Regions from separate parts of the Homo sapiens genome. Here all the other regions are linked to region 2. Evidence: promoter capture Hi-C in human tissues and cell types (Jung and others, 2019). All regions are on one chromosome and are shown on one strand. The core of a region is centred on a gene start or on the middle of the fragment in contact, and the rest is flanking DNA. Distances in the headings are between cores, read along the strand shown. Region 1 overlaps ARMH3 (armadillo like helical domain containing 3). Region 2 holds the start of FBXW4 (F-box and WD repeat domain containing 4). Region 3 has its middle 26 kb from the start of LINC01514. Region 4 has its middle 25 kb from the start of LDB1. Region 5 overlaps ARMH3 (armadillo like helical domain containing 3).

Region 1 (2,700 bases), core at 163-2,662, 300 kb before region 2:
CCCAGCTAATTTTTTGTATTTTAGTAGAGATGGGGTTTCACCATGTTGGCCAGGATGGTCTCGATCTCCTGACCTTGTGATCCACCCGCCTCGGCCTCCCAAAGTGCTGGGATTACAGGCATGAGCCACCACGCGTGGCCCAGAATTTTGTATTTATCATTCCTTTGGTTTTGTTTGTTTGTTTGAGACAGAGTCTCACTCTGTCACCCAGGCTGGAGTGCAGTGGCATGATCTTCTCGGCTCACTGCAACCTCTGCCTTGTGGATTCAAGCGATTCTCTTGCCTCAGCCTCCTGAGTAGCTGGGATTACAGGTGCATGCCACCACGCCTGGCTGATTTTTGTATCTTTAGTAGAGAAGGGGTTTCACCATGTTGGCCAAGCTTGTCTCCAACTCCTGACCTCAGGTGATCATCCCACCTCAGCCTCCCAAAGTGCTGGGATTAGAGGTGTGAGCCACTGAGCCCAGCCCCTATTCCCTTGGGTTTTCCCCTGCTTTTAAAGCCTTTATTACTTGGGATTTTTCTGACTTTGGTGGTGTCACCTTAAAGAAGCTTCTGCTCAACCTTTATAATAGATACTAGGCAAAAAATTGTAAAAACCATGTATATCTATGCATAGACTTAAAGTTGATTCACCAAAGTCTTAACAGTTATAACATTTGGGTGGTATGATTAAATTTGATTTTCATTGTTTTGTGTGTATATGCTTTTTTAGAGTTTAAAAGACTGTCTATAATGAAATAAGCCTAGTTTTGTATTCATAAACACTTTAATTTTAAAATTAAAAAAAATTTTAAGTGGAGAGATAGCTGCAGGCTTTTCTGTGGGAGTTGCGTATCAGTTTGTGGGAGGATAGTGCCATAGAAACTGGCTAAAGGTGGGTAGAAGAGTTGTGAATCTAGTTTTCTGGAGGCAAGGGCATTACTCTTTGGCTATATCGGGGCTTTGATGAAGCTCCAGGGAGTGTCAGATAGGGATTGTCACCATTACTCTTTTTGCATTGCCTATCTCTGAGGAGATGTGAGTATATTTGTGGATTGTAATCCCCATTATGCCATCTAATTGTCAGGTTTTAATTGATAGATCCCATTTTTGAGAAAGAAGCAGGTCAATGTCAGGGTAAATAGTAATAGCTAACTTCTACAGCACTCTAATCCATTAAGAGGTCTTCTCTCTAGATTGGACTTCATTCTGGGTCCTGTTGAAGCTAATTTGAAAATCATGAGCCATTTGTCTGTTTTGGCTATGCTGGCATGATCCTCTTCTTACTTCCTTTTCACTCCTTCACCCACAGAGTTTCTGGAAAGTAACATAAGCTTGATGGGTTCTCGTACTTGGCAGTAATGGATTAGCTCTTTTTTGTCCTTTTGTGTGTGGGCTTAGAGCCCTGCTACTGAGGTTGTCTTCTTCTTTTTTAATAACTAGAATGTGAGTTGTGAGAGACCAGGGACCTTTGTCTGTTTTATTCAGTGCTATATCTCTAGTGCCTTGCACAGTGCCTGCCACATAGTAGTGCTAAGTAAATATTTGTTGAATGAGTAACTTTGACAGGAAGAAAAATGATCAAGAGTTCACAGCTTTCTAGGGCATAAGTATACAATTGCAAGGAGAAGCGTGGGCTGGACCCTAGTCTCCAGTTAATTTCTTTTTGATTTCATTGCCAGTTTGCTATGAGCAGTCATGAAATCTTTCTAGATTTTGTGGTAGGTGGTGCTTAGAGCTGGCAGATGAGAGGGTGGGTGGAAAAGGAAATGGACCTGACTATTCAAGTTCTATCAGCAAAGGGCTGATGTGAGAGTACTGGCCACTATTTGAGCCATGACAGTAGGAACCATTGTGAGTTAGATGGCTTTCAGGAAGGTGGTTAGCCATTTAACAGACTACCAGGATATTAAAAAAATAAATCTTCTGGGGGAATTCTTTTGCCTAGGAGGGAAGCAAGAATTACTATAGTAGTACCTTGATTTTCATTTATGGATTTTGTGGGAAGAGAAAGTGTGAATGTTTCCTTTTATGATATACGTCCTTGTTCTGTATTGAAACAGATGATGTAAATCTGGATGATTTACAGAGAAGAGTTTCTTTTTTCTTTACAGATGAACACAGGCTTCACAGTGGCAAACTCTGTCTGATTATCCTTACATGTATTGCAGAGGTAGGTCTCACGAGCCTTCTGCTATTAGGCAGTCTTTTACAAAGTGCTATCTTTCCCTGCCTCCCCTCACCCCATTACTGTCTCATGACATTTAGGGTCCTAAAGTTTAGGAGAGAAAATCTTCCCCCTTTGTATTATCTGTCTTCTCCCACTAGAGTGTAGTCTTCGATGAAGCCATGGATAGACAGGGTCTTGTCTGCTTCCACGCTGTTTAGCACTGTGTTTTTAAACTGTGGAGCAGTTTGTTTGTTTGTTTGTTTTGAGACGGAGTATCGCTCTGTTGCCCAGGCTGGAGTGCAGTGGCATGATCTTGGCTCACTGCAACCTCCACCTCCCAGGTTCAAGCGATCCTCGTGCCTCGGCCCCTCTAGTAGCTGGGATTACAGGCAGTGCCACCTTGCCCGGCTAATTTTTGTAATTTTAGTAGAGATGGGGTTTTGCCATGTTGGCCAGGCTGGTGTCAAACTCCTGACCTCAGGTGATCCACCCACCTCGGCCTCCCAAAGTGCTGGGATTACAGGCGTGAGCCACCATGCTCGGCAGTG
Region 2 (2,700 bases), core at 189-2,688:
GGGGAGGGATGGCATTTTTTTGTAACAGGATTTGACCTGTAACTATTATTAAGAATTTTCTTAGAGGAGTTCAAAGCATTTTACAGGGATCATCTCATTTATCCCTCGAAAGTAAGGCAGAGGCATTATCTCCACTACAGATTGAGAACACTAAAAGGCCAAGATAGGTGGGGCTTTTTGTTGTTGTTTTGCTAAGATCAAAAAGTAATTCTAGGGCAAAGCCAGATTCCGGTCTGACCTTGTTACATGATGCTTCTTGCAGCACCATAATACAATGTAGTTGCTTCCCTAGGTTTCTCTTTGGCTATGCTAGGTGTTGAATAATTTTCAGGGTCAATTTTTATTCTTCCCTGCTCCCTGAAAATGAGTGTTAAGATGTAGATAAGTACAAAAGAAAACTCTCCAATCCTTCCTACCTGGATTTGGAGTACAGGATAAACAGACAGAAATTGGCATCTTCCTCCCCTCCTCCAAGTTTTACTGCCTAGCCCAATGCTAATAGAAAAATAACCCGAGCCACAAATGCAAGTCCCATGTATAATTTTAAATTTTCTAGTAGTTACATTAAAATATATTGTATTTAGCCCAATACAGCGTATCCAAAATATTAACACTTCAACACGTAATCAATATAAAATTATTAATGAGATATTTTGCATTCTTTTTTTTGTATGGCTTCAAAATCTGGTGTGCATTTCTCACTTATAGCTCATTTCAATTTGTATTAGCCACATTTCAAATGCTCAGCAGCCACATGTGACGAGGGAGGACACTGTTGGACAGCACAGGTCTAGACCTCAGTAGCTCTCCCTTCAGATTAATGCCATGTGAATCGAATGGGTGGTATGAAGAATGGATGCTGAGTCCTTGGAGAATCCACTTGCACTTGGGTGGTGACTGATAAGAAGCCCTAGCTGTGCCATTTCCTGATACATGACTGTTTTTGAAGTTATGGACTCAGGATCTAGAAGACTGCAAATCCCCAAATACGTCTAACACCCAAGCTCACGCCAGGACCGTGCTTCCGGGCCTGTGTGAGAACCTAAGCTATGGAACCTGTCAACTTCTAGGGCTGCAGATTCGTTGGGCCCTCACATGTGGCCCGTGGAAAGGAGGCATCACTCGAGGAAGAGGAGGGCTTCTAGAGGGGCAAGGCCACCCAACTAGGGGCTTCTTGAGGGCAGGTGCTCCAAATGGCCGCTTCCTGAGGGCAGCGGGTCCTCTTGTGGCCTCAGGCAGGGCCCTGAAACCGGCCTCACGTGTTTGCAGCGCGAACTCCTGTGCTTCCACCAAGCGCTCTCGGGGATGCGGGGGTGGTGTCAGCGCCCCGGCCCCAGCCCGCACCCCGAAGTGGCTCCAAGGCTGCAGGTGTGAGGGGCGTGCCCAGGGCTCGGCCCGCGCCGCCCCATGTGACCCGGTCCGACATGGTGTCGCCTCCTCCCGGGGCGGCGGCGGTGGCGGCTCGGGCTGGGCTCCGCGTCGGGCCGGCCCCGCGGCCGCTCATGGGCAGCCAGGGCCGCTCGGGGCCCCCCGGGAACGGCGGGCCCGGCGAGGGCGAGGGCGGAGAGGCGAGGAAGCTGCAGGAAGGGAGGGTGGCGAGGGGGAAGCGAAGGAAGGGGAAGGGGAAGGGAAAAGCGAGAGCGGGGCAAGGCGGAAGAGGAAGCGGGGCGGAAGGGAAGCCCGGGCCGCAGACGGCGAAGGAGGCAGCCGGGCCGGGGGCTGACGCGGGAGCGAGGGCATGCCCAAGGGAGGAAGCAGAGGGAGGCAGAAGCGTGGAGGAAGGGGCGAGAGGCATCGTCAAGGGAGTCGAGGGGAGCGCAGGGGCCGGGAAGGAGGCACAAGGAAGAGAGTATGGGAAGAAGGAGGAATGGAGGGTCAGGGCTAGGCGGCGGGAGGGCGCCAGGCCGGGAAGAGCACAGGGACGAGGGGGTCAGGCTTGGGCCGACATCGCGGGGACAGGGGTGGCCATGGCGGCGGCGGCCGGGGAGGAGGAGGAGGAGGAGGAGGCGGCTCGGGAGTCGGCTGCCCGCCCGGCCGCGGGGCCTGCGCTCTGGCGCCTGCCGGAGGAGCTGCTGCTGCTCATCTGCTCCTACCTGGACATGCGGGCCCTCGGCCGCCTGGCCCAGGTGTGCCGCTGGCTGCGGCGCTTCACCAGCTGCGATCTGCTCTGGCGCCGGATAGCCCGGGCCTCGCTCAACTCCGGCTTCACGCGGCTCGGCACCGACCTGTAAGCGTCCGCTCGCCCGCCCGCTCCCCGCCCCGAGCCGGCCCCGCGTCCCGGGAAAGGGCGGGGCGCCGCGGCCTGGTCGGCCCAGGGTCGTGTCGCACCCCGAGTTTCTAGGCCTACACCTGACCTCCGCCTACACCCTTTCCCGAGCACTCTCGGGGACCCCTTTGCCCCTCCTCCCCAAGGCCTCCATCTGAGGCAGCCTCCCGAGAGCATCCCTCAGTAGGCACCCTCCCGGGTGGGCCGCTCCTCACAATTAGCCATCTTAGGCACTCCCTACAGCTTTCGATTGTGTGTTTTTGCAGAGGTTTAGCTGCCCCGGTTCCTTCGCCCCAGAGGAGCCAGTCTGGTACGGTGCTTTGGACGATTCCTTGAGTCCAGGTCTAGGACTCAGGTTCCTTAAGTGGTCTATCATAAATTTTTGTGGACTTTCATCTTTCATCCTCCCTACCCTTTTCTAAAGGTTGTTAAGC
Region 3 (2,700 bases), core at 194-2,693, 490 kb after region 2:
GCTTTCCCTGTTTTTTATTCCCTTAACAGTTTAGAGGAGTACAGGTCAGGAATTCTGTAGAACGTCCCTCAATCTGGATTTTTCTGTGGTTTTCTCATGGTTATGTTACCCGAAAGGGGTCCCTACCCAGACCCCAAGAGAGGGTTTTTGGATCTTGCACAAGAAAGAATTTGAGGTGAATCCAGAAAGTGAAAGCAAGTTTATTAGGAAAGTAAAAGAATAAGAGAATGGTTACTCCATAGGCAGAGCAGCCCTGAGGGCTTCTGGTTTTTTTGTTTTATTTTTGAGACGAGTCTCGCTCTGTCGCCCAGGCTGGAGTGCAGTGGTGCGATCTTGGCTCACTGAAAACTCCATCTCTCGGGTTCAGCCATTCTCCTGCCTCAGCCTCCAGAGTAGCTGGGACTACAGGCGCCTGCCACCACGCCTGGCTATTTTTTTTGTATTTTTTTAGTAGAGATGGTGTTTCACCGTGTTAGCCAGGATGGGGGCTTCTGTTTTTTACGGTTATTTCTTGATTATATGCTAAACAAGTGGTGGATTATTCATGAGTCTTCCTGGAAAGGGATGGGCAATTCCTGGACCTGAGGGTTCCTCTCCTTTTTAGACCATATAGGGTAACTTCCAGACATTGCCATGGCATTTGTAAACTGTCATGGTGCTGGTGGGAGTGTCTTTTAGGATGCTAATGCATTATAATTAGCATGTAATGAGCAGTGAGGACAACTGGAGGTCACTCAGGATGATTCAGGAAATTGTATTTTACTCGAGTTGAAGGAGAACATTAGTGTTAGATTAGAGCGATGGGGAACCAGGTGTGGCAGCTCACACCTGCAATCCCAGCAGTTTGTGAGGCAGAGGTGGGAGGATGACTTGAGCCCAAGAGCTGGAGACCAGACTGGGCAACATGGTGAGACCTCTTCTCTACAAAAAATAAAAAATTAGCTTGGCATGATGGCACACACACACCTGTAGTCCCAGCTACCTGGGAGGCTGAGGTGGGAGGATGATTAGAGCCCAGGAAGTCAAGGCTGCAGTGAGCTGTGATGGTGCCACTGCACTCCAGCCTGGGCAACAAAGTGACATTCTGTCTCAAAAAAAAAAAAAAAAAAGTGCTGGGGAAGGGAACAGGGCTGTGCTGAATGTGTGAGGAGACACTACTCAGGTATGAAGAAGGCTTACTGTTTGTATTTTTTTTGTATTCATTTTAAATTCTGAATTATCCCTTTGTGTTAGTCTGTTCTTGTATTGATATAAAGAAATATCTGAGGCTGGGTAACTTATGAAGAAAAGACATTTAATTGTTCATGGTTCTGCAGGCTGTGCAAGAAGCATGGCACCAATATCTGCTCAGCTTCTGGTGAGGCCTCAGGAAGCTTCTAATCACGGCAGAAGGAGAATAGGAGGCTGGCCTATCACATGGTGAGAAAGTCAGTGGGGGACGGAGTGGGTGCCACACACACCCCTTTTTTTTTCTGAGACAGGGCTGTCCCCAGGCTGGAGTACAGTGGCACAGTCATACCTCACTGCAGTCTCCACCTTCCAGACTCAAGTGATCCTCCCCCATCAGCCTCCTGAGTAGCTGGGACCACAGGCTAACACCACCATGACCAGTAATTTTTTCATTTTTTACAGAGACGGAGTCTTGCCATGTTGCCCAGGCTGGTCTCAAACTCCTAGGCTCAAGTCATCCTCCTGCCTTGGCCTCCCAAAGTGCTGGGATTAAAAATGTGAGCCACTGTGCCTGGCCACCATACCCTTTTCAACAACCAGATCTCACGTGAACTCAGAGTGAGAACTCACTCATTATTGTGAGGACAGCACCAAGCTATTCATGAAGGATCCGCCCCCATGACCCAAACACCTCTCACCAGGCCCCACCTCCAACACTGGGGATTACATTTACTTACTTACTTTTATTCATTTACTTTTTGAGATGGAGTCTAGCTCTGTTGCGCAGGCTAAAGTGCAGTGGCACAATCTTGGCTCACTGCAACCTCTGCCTCCCGGGCTCAAGCAATTCTCCTGCCTCAACCTCCCAAGTAGCTGAGACTACAGGCGTGTGCCACTGTTAGGCCTCTGAGCCCAAGCCAAGCCGTGGCATCCCCCGTGACTTGCATGTATACGCCCAGATGGCCTGAAGTAACTGAAGAATCACAAAAGAAGTGAAAATACCCTGCCCTGCCTTAACTGATGACATTCCACCACAAAAATAAGTGAAAATGGCCGGTCCTTGCCTTAGGTGATGACATTACCTTGTGAAAGTCCTTTTCCTGGCTCATCCTGGCTCAAAAACTCCCCTACTGAGCATTTTGCGACCCCCACTCCTGCCCGCCAGAGAGCAAACCCCCTTTGACTGTAATTTTCCTTTACCTACCCAAATCTTATAAAACGGCCCCACCCCTGTCTCCCTTCGCTGACTCCCTTTTCAGACTCAGCCCGCCTGCACCCAGGTGATTAAAAGTTTTATTGCTCACACAAAGCCTGTTTGGTGGTCTCTTCACATGGGCGCGCATGAAAGCCACCATGCCTGGCTAATTTTTACATTTTTAGTAGATGGGATTTCACCATGTTGGCCAGGCTGGTCTTGAACTCCTGAGCTCAAGTGATCTGCCCGCCTCGGCCTCCCAAAGTGCTGGGATTACAGGCATGAGCCACCATGCCCGGCCTGGGGATTACATTTAAACATGAGATTTGAAAGGG
Region 4 (2,700 bases), core at 34-2,533, 400 kb before region 2:
GGGCTGCAGTGGCGCGATCTTGGCTCACTGCAAGCTCCACCTCCCAGGTTCACGCCATTCTCCTGCCTCAGCCTCCCGAGTAGCTGGGACTACAAGCGCCCACCACCACACCTGGCTAATTTTTCTTTGTATTTTTAGTAGAGACGGGGTTTCACCGTGTTAGCCAGGATGGTCTCAATCTCCTGACCTCATGATCCGCCTGCCTCGGCCTCCCAAAGTGCTGGGATTACAGGCGTGAGCCACCGCACCTGGCCGCTAGCCTGGCCTATTTTTTATTTTTATTTATATATTTTGTGAGACAGGGTCTCACTGTCACCCAGGCTGGAGTGCAATGATGCTATCATATCTCATCTCAGCCATGAACTCCTGGGTTCAAAGGATTCTCACGCCTCAGCCGTTCAAATAGCTAGGACTAAAGGCATGCACTACTACGCCCAGCTGTCTCCCATTTTATTTACCTAGGAGGAAACTAAGGAACAGAGAGGTCAAGCAGCTTGCCCAAGGTCACAGAGCCAGCAAGGATTTTGAATTTCATCCAAATGTAATGGGTTGTCACCAAAGGATCTAATGCAGGTCATGTTTAAGAGCTGGTCCCTGCCTTCCAGAAAAGAGAGAAAGGGCCGGGTGTGGTGGCTCACACCTGTACTCCCAGCACTTTCGGAGGCCGAGGCGGGTGGATCACCTGAGGTCAGGAGTTCAAGACCAGCCTGGCCAATGAAGTTTAGACTTAATTTTATAGAGAGTGGAAAACCACCAAAAGTTTTTCAACAGAGAAGTGACCTACTCAGATCTGTTATTTTTTAAATTTTTTTATTTTTTTTAAATAAGGTTAGTTTGATGTGGTGTGTAGAACTGGAGAGGGGAAACTAATTAGGAGGCTATGAGGTCCATGCTGCTAGTAATGTAGAAAACCCAAACCAAACCACACAAAAAGATCCTAACTTATAAAATAAAACAAATACAAGATTAAAGAATTAGTCCGGGTGTGGTGGCTCACGCCTGTAATCCCAGCACTTTGGGAGGCCGAGGTGGGTGGATCACCTGAGGTCAGCAGTTCAAAACCTGAGGTCAGGAGTTCAAGCCTGGCCAACATGGTGAAACCCTGTCTCTACTAAAAATACAAAAAAAAACTAGCCAGGTGTGGTAGCAGGTACCTGTAATCCCAGCTACGGGAGGCTGAGGCAGGAGAATTGCTTGACCTGGGAGGCTGAGGTTGTAGTAAGCTGAGATAGTGCCACTGCACTCCAGCCTGGGTGACAGAGAAGACTCCATCAAAAAAGAAAAAAAAAAAAAAAGAAAAACAAGATTAAAGAATTAAATGTAAGTAAATAAAGTTAGAAGAAAATGAGATTAAATAGTATTCATCAGCCTTGTAGGAATATGTGTGTGGGTGATAAACTTGCAAGCTTAAATACTATAGAAGAAATCAAAAAGGAAGAGAGTAAATTTTATCCCAATTAAAAAAAAAAAAAGGAAAGAATGACCAGTTTGACTACATACAAATTTACAACTTTGGTGTATATATGTATAAGTAAAAACGAAACCAAACCTCTAAAGAGAACAAACAAGAAAGCAATATGCTGAGAAATATATTTGCAGCAAATATGATAAAGAGTTAAAATGTTTTTGTATAAGTAGGGTGCAGTGTGGGACACCTGTAGTCCAAGCTACTGGGGAGGGTGAGGCAGGAGGATCCCTTTATAAAGCTTCGGAGTTTGAGGCCGGGCGCAGTGGCTCACACCTGTAATCCCAGCACTTTGGGAGGACGAGGCGGGCGGATCACAAGGTCAGAAGATCGAGACTATCCTAGCTAACACGGTGAAACCCCTTCTCTACTAAAAAATATAAAAAATTAGCCGGGCACGGTGGCGGGCGCCTGTAGTCCCAGCTACTCAGGAGGCTGAGGCAGGAGAATGGCATGAACCTGGGAGGCGGAGCTTGCAGTGAGCCAAGATTGCGCCACTGCACTCCAGCCTGGGTGAGAGCGAGACTCTATCTCAAAAAAAGAAAAAGAAAAAAAAGCTTCGGAGTTTGAGCCCAGCCTGGGCAGCATAGCAAGACTCTGATCCTAAAAATAAATAAATAAATAATTTTTGTATAATTAATTTATGCAAAATAGGTTTTGTTTTGTTTTTTAAAAGGCCCCTCAATAAATAAATGGGAGCCAGGCATGGTGGGTCATGCCTGTCGTCCCAGCCTTTTGAGGGGCTGAGGCAGGCGGATCACGTGAGGTCAGGAGTTCAAGACCAACCTGGCCAATATGATGAAACCCCGTCTCTAGTAAAAATAGAAAAAAATAGCTGGGCATGGTGGTACACACCTGTAATCCCAGCTACTCGGGAGGCTGAGGCAGGAGAATCGCTTGAACCCAGGAGGCAGAGGTTGCGGTGAGCTGAGATCACGTTACTGCACTCCAGCCTGGGCAACAGAGCGAGACTCCATCTCAACAATAACAACAAAAAATACAAAAATTAGCCGGACATGGTGGCAGGCGCTTGTAATCCCAGCTACTTGGGGGCTGAGACTGGAGATCGCTTGAACCCGGGACAGAGGTTGCAGTGAGCTGAGATTGTGCCACTGCACTTCAGCCTGAGCAACGGTGTGAGAATCTGTCTCAAAAACAAAACAAATAAAAATAAAAATGACAGCTGGGCGCAGTGGCTCACCCCTGTAATCCCAGCACTTTGGGAGGCTGAGGTG
Region 5 (2,709 bases), core at 185-2,684, 320 kb before region 2:
GAACACAGCAAAACCAAAGCTGGTGAAATTCTGTGCAAACTAGCATGAGGCAGTGTGCTGGGGAGAATAGCATTCTAGCCACCAGTACAATCAATCTCATGACCAATGGGGTAAGTTGTAACCTTTCCAGAAAGGTACCGAGGCACAGAGAGGTTGGGTACCCAACTAAGCACAGAGAAAGTGAAGAAGTTGTTGGACTTAAGCAATAAAAGTGATAGAAAAGATACCATGTAGTAAATGTGTAGTTCTTCCTCACTTCAAGTAATGTGTTCCATTTTAATCATTTCATCCAAAAAGACAAAAGAGCCCCCAAAAAAGGTCTAGGGAAGAGCAATGGAAAACGTTAAGTGTACCTGCAATCAAATAAAGGCAGGACCCTAGTAGAGTGATACTGTGAAGACTCAAAGATTTTGTAATTCTGTCTTGTGGATGAAAAGTAGATTTCCTCCAGTTTTAAAAAGTGACCAGTACAACAGTGGTATAGTTTAAATAATTGGCCTCTGGTAAAATAGAAATTTTCACAACATAAGATCCTGGCTTTCTAGGCTGGCCAAGTCTCCTGAGATGAAGTGACTCAGATCCCAACTGTTTCCTAGAGCATGACATTTCTCAGAAATTAACACATTGTTTGTTATGTCTAATTAAGTTGTTCCTTTTCTCCCCACACTGCCTTTTTCCTAAAGAGCTTTCCTTTGAATGTGATAATAATGTAAAAGAGGAAAACACACAGCTACCTGTACCAATTATTAAGCCTTTAGCATGTACCAGGTATTGTGCTAAGGATTTGATGTGTCTTACTTCATTTAAGCCTTTTAGCAACCCCAGGAGAAAAAATACAGGTTGACCATTTCTTATCTGAAAATCTGAAATTCAAAATGCCCCCAAATCTGAAACTTTTTGAATACCAACATGACACTCAAAGGAAGTGCTCATTGGAGTATTTCAGATTTTTGGATTAGGGATGCTTAACAGCTAAGTGTAATGCACATATTCCAAAATGTTAAAAAAAAATCCAAAATCCTAAGTACTTCTATCCCAAATGTTTGTTTGATTGATTGATCGAGACAGGGTCTCACTCTGTTACCCAGGCTGGAGTGGAAGGACGTGATCACAGCTCACTGCAGCCTTGACCTCCTGGACTCAAGTGATCCTCACACTTCATCCTTCCGAGTAGCTGGGACTACAGGCGTGTGCCACTATGCCTGGCTAGCTTTTTAAATTTTTTGTAGAGATAGGGTTTTGCCATGTTGCCCAAGCTGGTCTTGAACTCCTGGGCTCAAGTGATCCTCCCACCTTGGCCTACCAAAGCGTTAGGATTACAGGCATGAGCCACCGTGCCCAGCCCTAAAGCATTTTAGATGAGATACTCAATCTATATCCTCATTTTACAGATGAGGAAATAGAAACTTAGCTTTATGTGCCTAATTCGTCACAATTAATAAGCAGAAGAACTAGAATGCAAACGTTTGCTTGGAAATCAGATGACCCCAATTAAAACCTAAAACAGGCTGGGTGCAGTGGCTCACGCCTGTATTCCCAGCACTTTGGGAGGCCGAGACAGGCGGACCACCTGAGGTCAGGAGTTTGAGACCAGCCTGACCAACATGGAGAAACCCTGTCTCTACTAAAAATACAAAATTAGCTGGGCGTGGTGGCACATGCCTGTAATCCCAGCTACTCAGGAGGCTGAGGCAGGAGAATCGCTTGAACCTGGGAGGCAGAGGTTGTGGTGAGCTGAGATCATGCCATTGCACTCCAGCCTGGGCAACAAGAGCAAAATTCCGTCTCAAAAAAAAAAAAAAAATCCCAAAACCTTAAACAGTCTACTTTTGGGTGACTAGAACCTTCAAAAATTATGCCAAGAAATAGTGGTCTGCTCTTTCTAGTGTTACTCTCATCATGGCAGCATATCTAAGTCAGCCGATTTTGCTTGATTTTCTTTTCCAAGGACCCACTTGCATGGGAGCTTCCTTGAGGTCTGTAGAATCAGCAGAATTTGACTGTTGGTTATAGGAAGAAATGTTGAGAGCCTTCCTTCTGTCAGATCAAGTAACAAATGGAGTGGGTTTTACCCCTTAAGTTGTGTTGCATTAAACCTTATAAACATTTGGGCTGTTAAGAAAGCAAAGCTGTCTCTTTCTCTGTTCCCAGTTGACGTGCGAAAGATGCCCTCAGAAGCTTGGTTAAATAGGTCTGTGTGGGGAATGAGCCTTTCAGTTGGGTTTTCAAGTTTCTTAGTTATGAGTTTTTTTGGTAGCTGTAGAAACTGCCAGTCTGAGAACTATTGTTCCTTGCCTCTCTTGGATTAGAATTGGTGCCTGATTTATATGAAATTTTTCCTCACATCCCATAGGTGTAAGGAGAGGTCATTGGTTCTCATCCCCCTTGTAGGAGATGATCCAGTTGCTTTATGAGTTTAAATATATGACCATTTATGCTGCCCAACTGAGATTGGGTCTGGAAAAACCCAAGAACTCTTCCAGTGCTCTAAGTGATGGGACAATCATTAAATTCCAGTGTCCTGACCAGATTGTTGTTTGGGTAATTACATCCTTTTTTTCAGTTCTCCCTGCAGTGTTATTTGGGTATCAGATCTCCATAAATGACCTCTCTGGCTGTTAAGCAGCTGCCACTTTCCACCCCAAGGTGGCTTTGCTTTACGGGTGGGTGAATCAGTCCTTGCATGTAGTTTGTGAAATGGTTAGGGAG

What was found. The method cuts DNA at HindIII sites, captures the fragments that hold promoters and counts their contacts. A contact is called where the count stands out against the background at its distance.
Region 1: a fragment that was not itself captured here is called in contact with the fragment with the promoter of FBXW4 in region 2 in 1 of the 25 tissues and cell types used here (bladder).
Region 3: a contact is called between a fragment that was not itself captured here and the fragment with the promoter of FBXW4 in region 2, in 1 of the 25 tissues and cell types used here (lymphoblastoid cells).
Region 4: a contact is called between a fragment that was not itself captured here and the fragment with the promoter of FBXW4 in region 2, in 1 of the 25 tissues and cell types used here (adrenal gland).
Region 5: a fragment that was not itself captured here is called in contact with the fragment with the promoter of FBXW4 in region 2 in 1 of the 25 tissues and cell types used here (dorsolateral prefrontal cortex).

The regions. Positions count from the first base shown.
Region 1 is chr10:101,994,752-101,997,451 of GRCh38, reverse strand. ARMH3 (armadillo like helical domain containing 3) reads left to right here. Exons shown (of 26, transcript NM_024541.3): 16 at 2,097-2,155. Among named protein-coding and RNA genes, the nearest start is that of ARMH3, 60 kb to the left of the region's middle. The HindIII fragment of the contact is 3,121 bases long and covers 1-2,700 here.
Region 2 is chr10:101,693,908-101,696,607 of GRCh38, reverse strand. It overlaps FBXW4 (F-box and WD repeat domain containing 4), which reads left to right and starts at 1,438. Exons shown (of 9, transcript NM_022039.4): 1 at 1,438-2,227. The coding sequence starts at 1,503. RefSeq lists silencers at 1,269-1,548, 1,579-1,628, 1,909-2,368 and an enhancer at 2,679-2,700. The HindIII fragment of the contact is 7,927 bases long and covers 1-2,700 here.
Region 3 is chr10:101,200,818-101,203,517 of GRCh38, reverse strand. No RefSeq gene overlaps it. Among named protein-coding and RNA genes, the nearest start is that of LINC01514, 26 kb to the right of the region's middle. The HindIII fragment of the contact is 6,715 bases long and covers 1-2,700 here.
Region 4 is chr10:102,094,440-102,097,139 of GRCh38, reverse strand. No RefSeq gene overlaps it. Among named protein-coding and RNA genes, the nearest start is that of LDB1, 25 kb to the left of the region's middle. The HindIII fragment of the contact is 4,424 bases long and covers 1-2,700 here.
Region 5 is chr10:102,014,487-102,017,195 of GRCh38, reverse strand. The region is part of intron 8 of ARMH3 (armadillo like helical domain containing 3); the gene reads left to right. Among named protein-coding and RNA genes, the nearest start is that of ARMH3, 40 kb to the left of the region's middle. The HindIII fragment of the contact is 3,438 bases long and covers 1-2,709 here.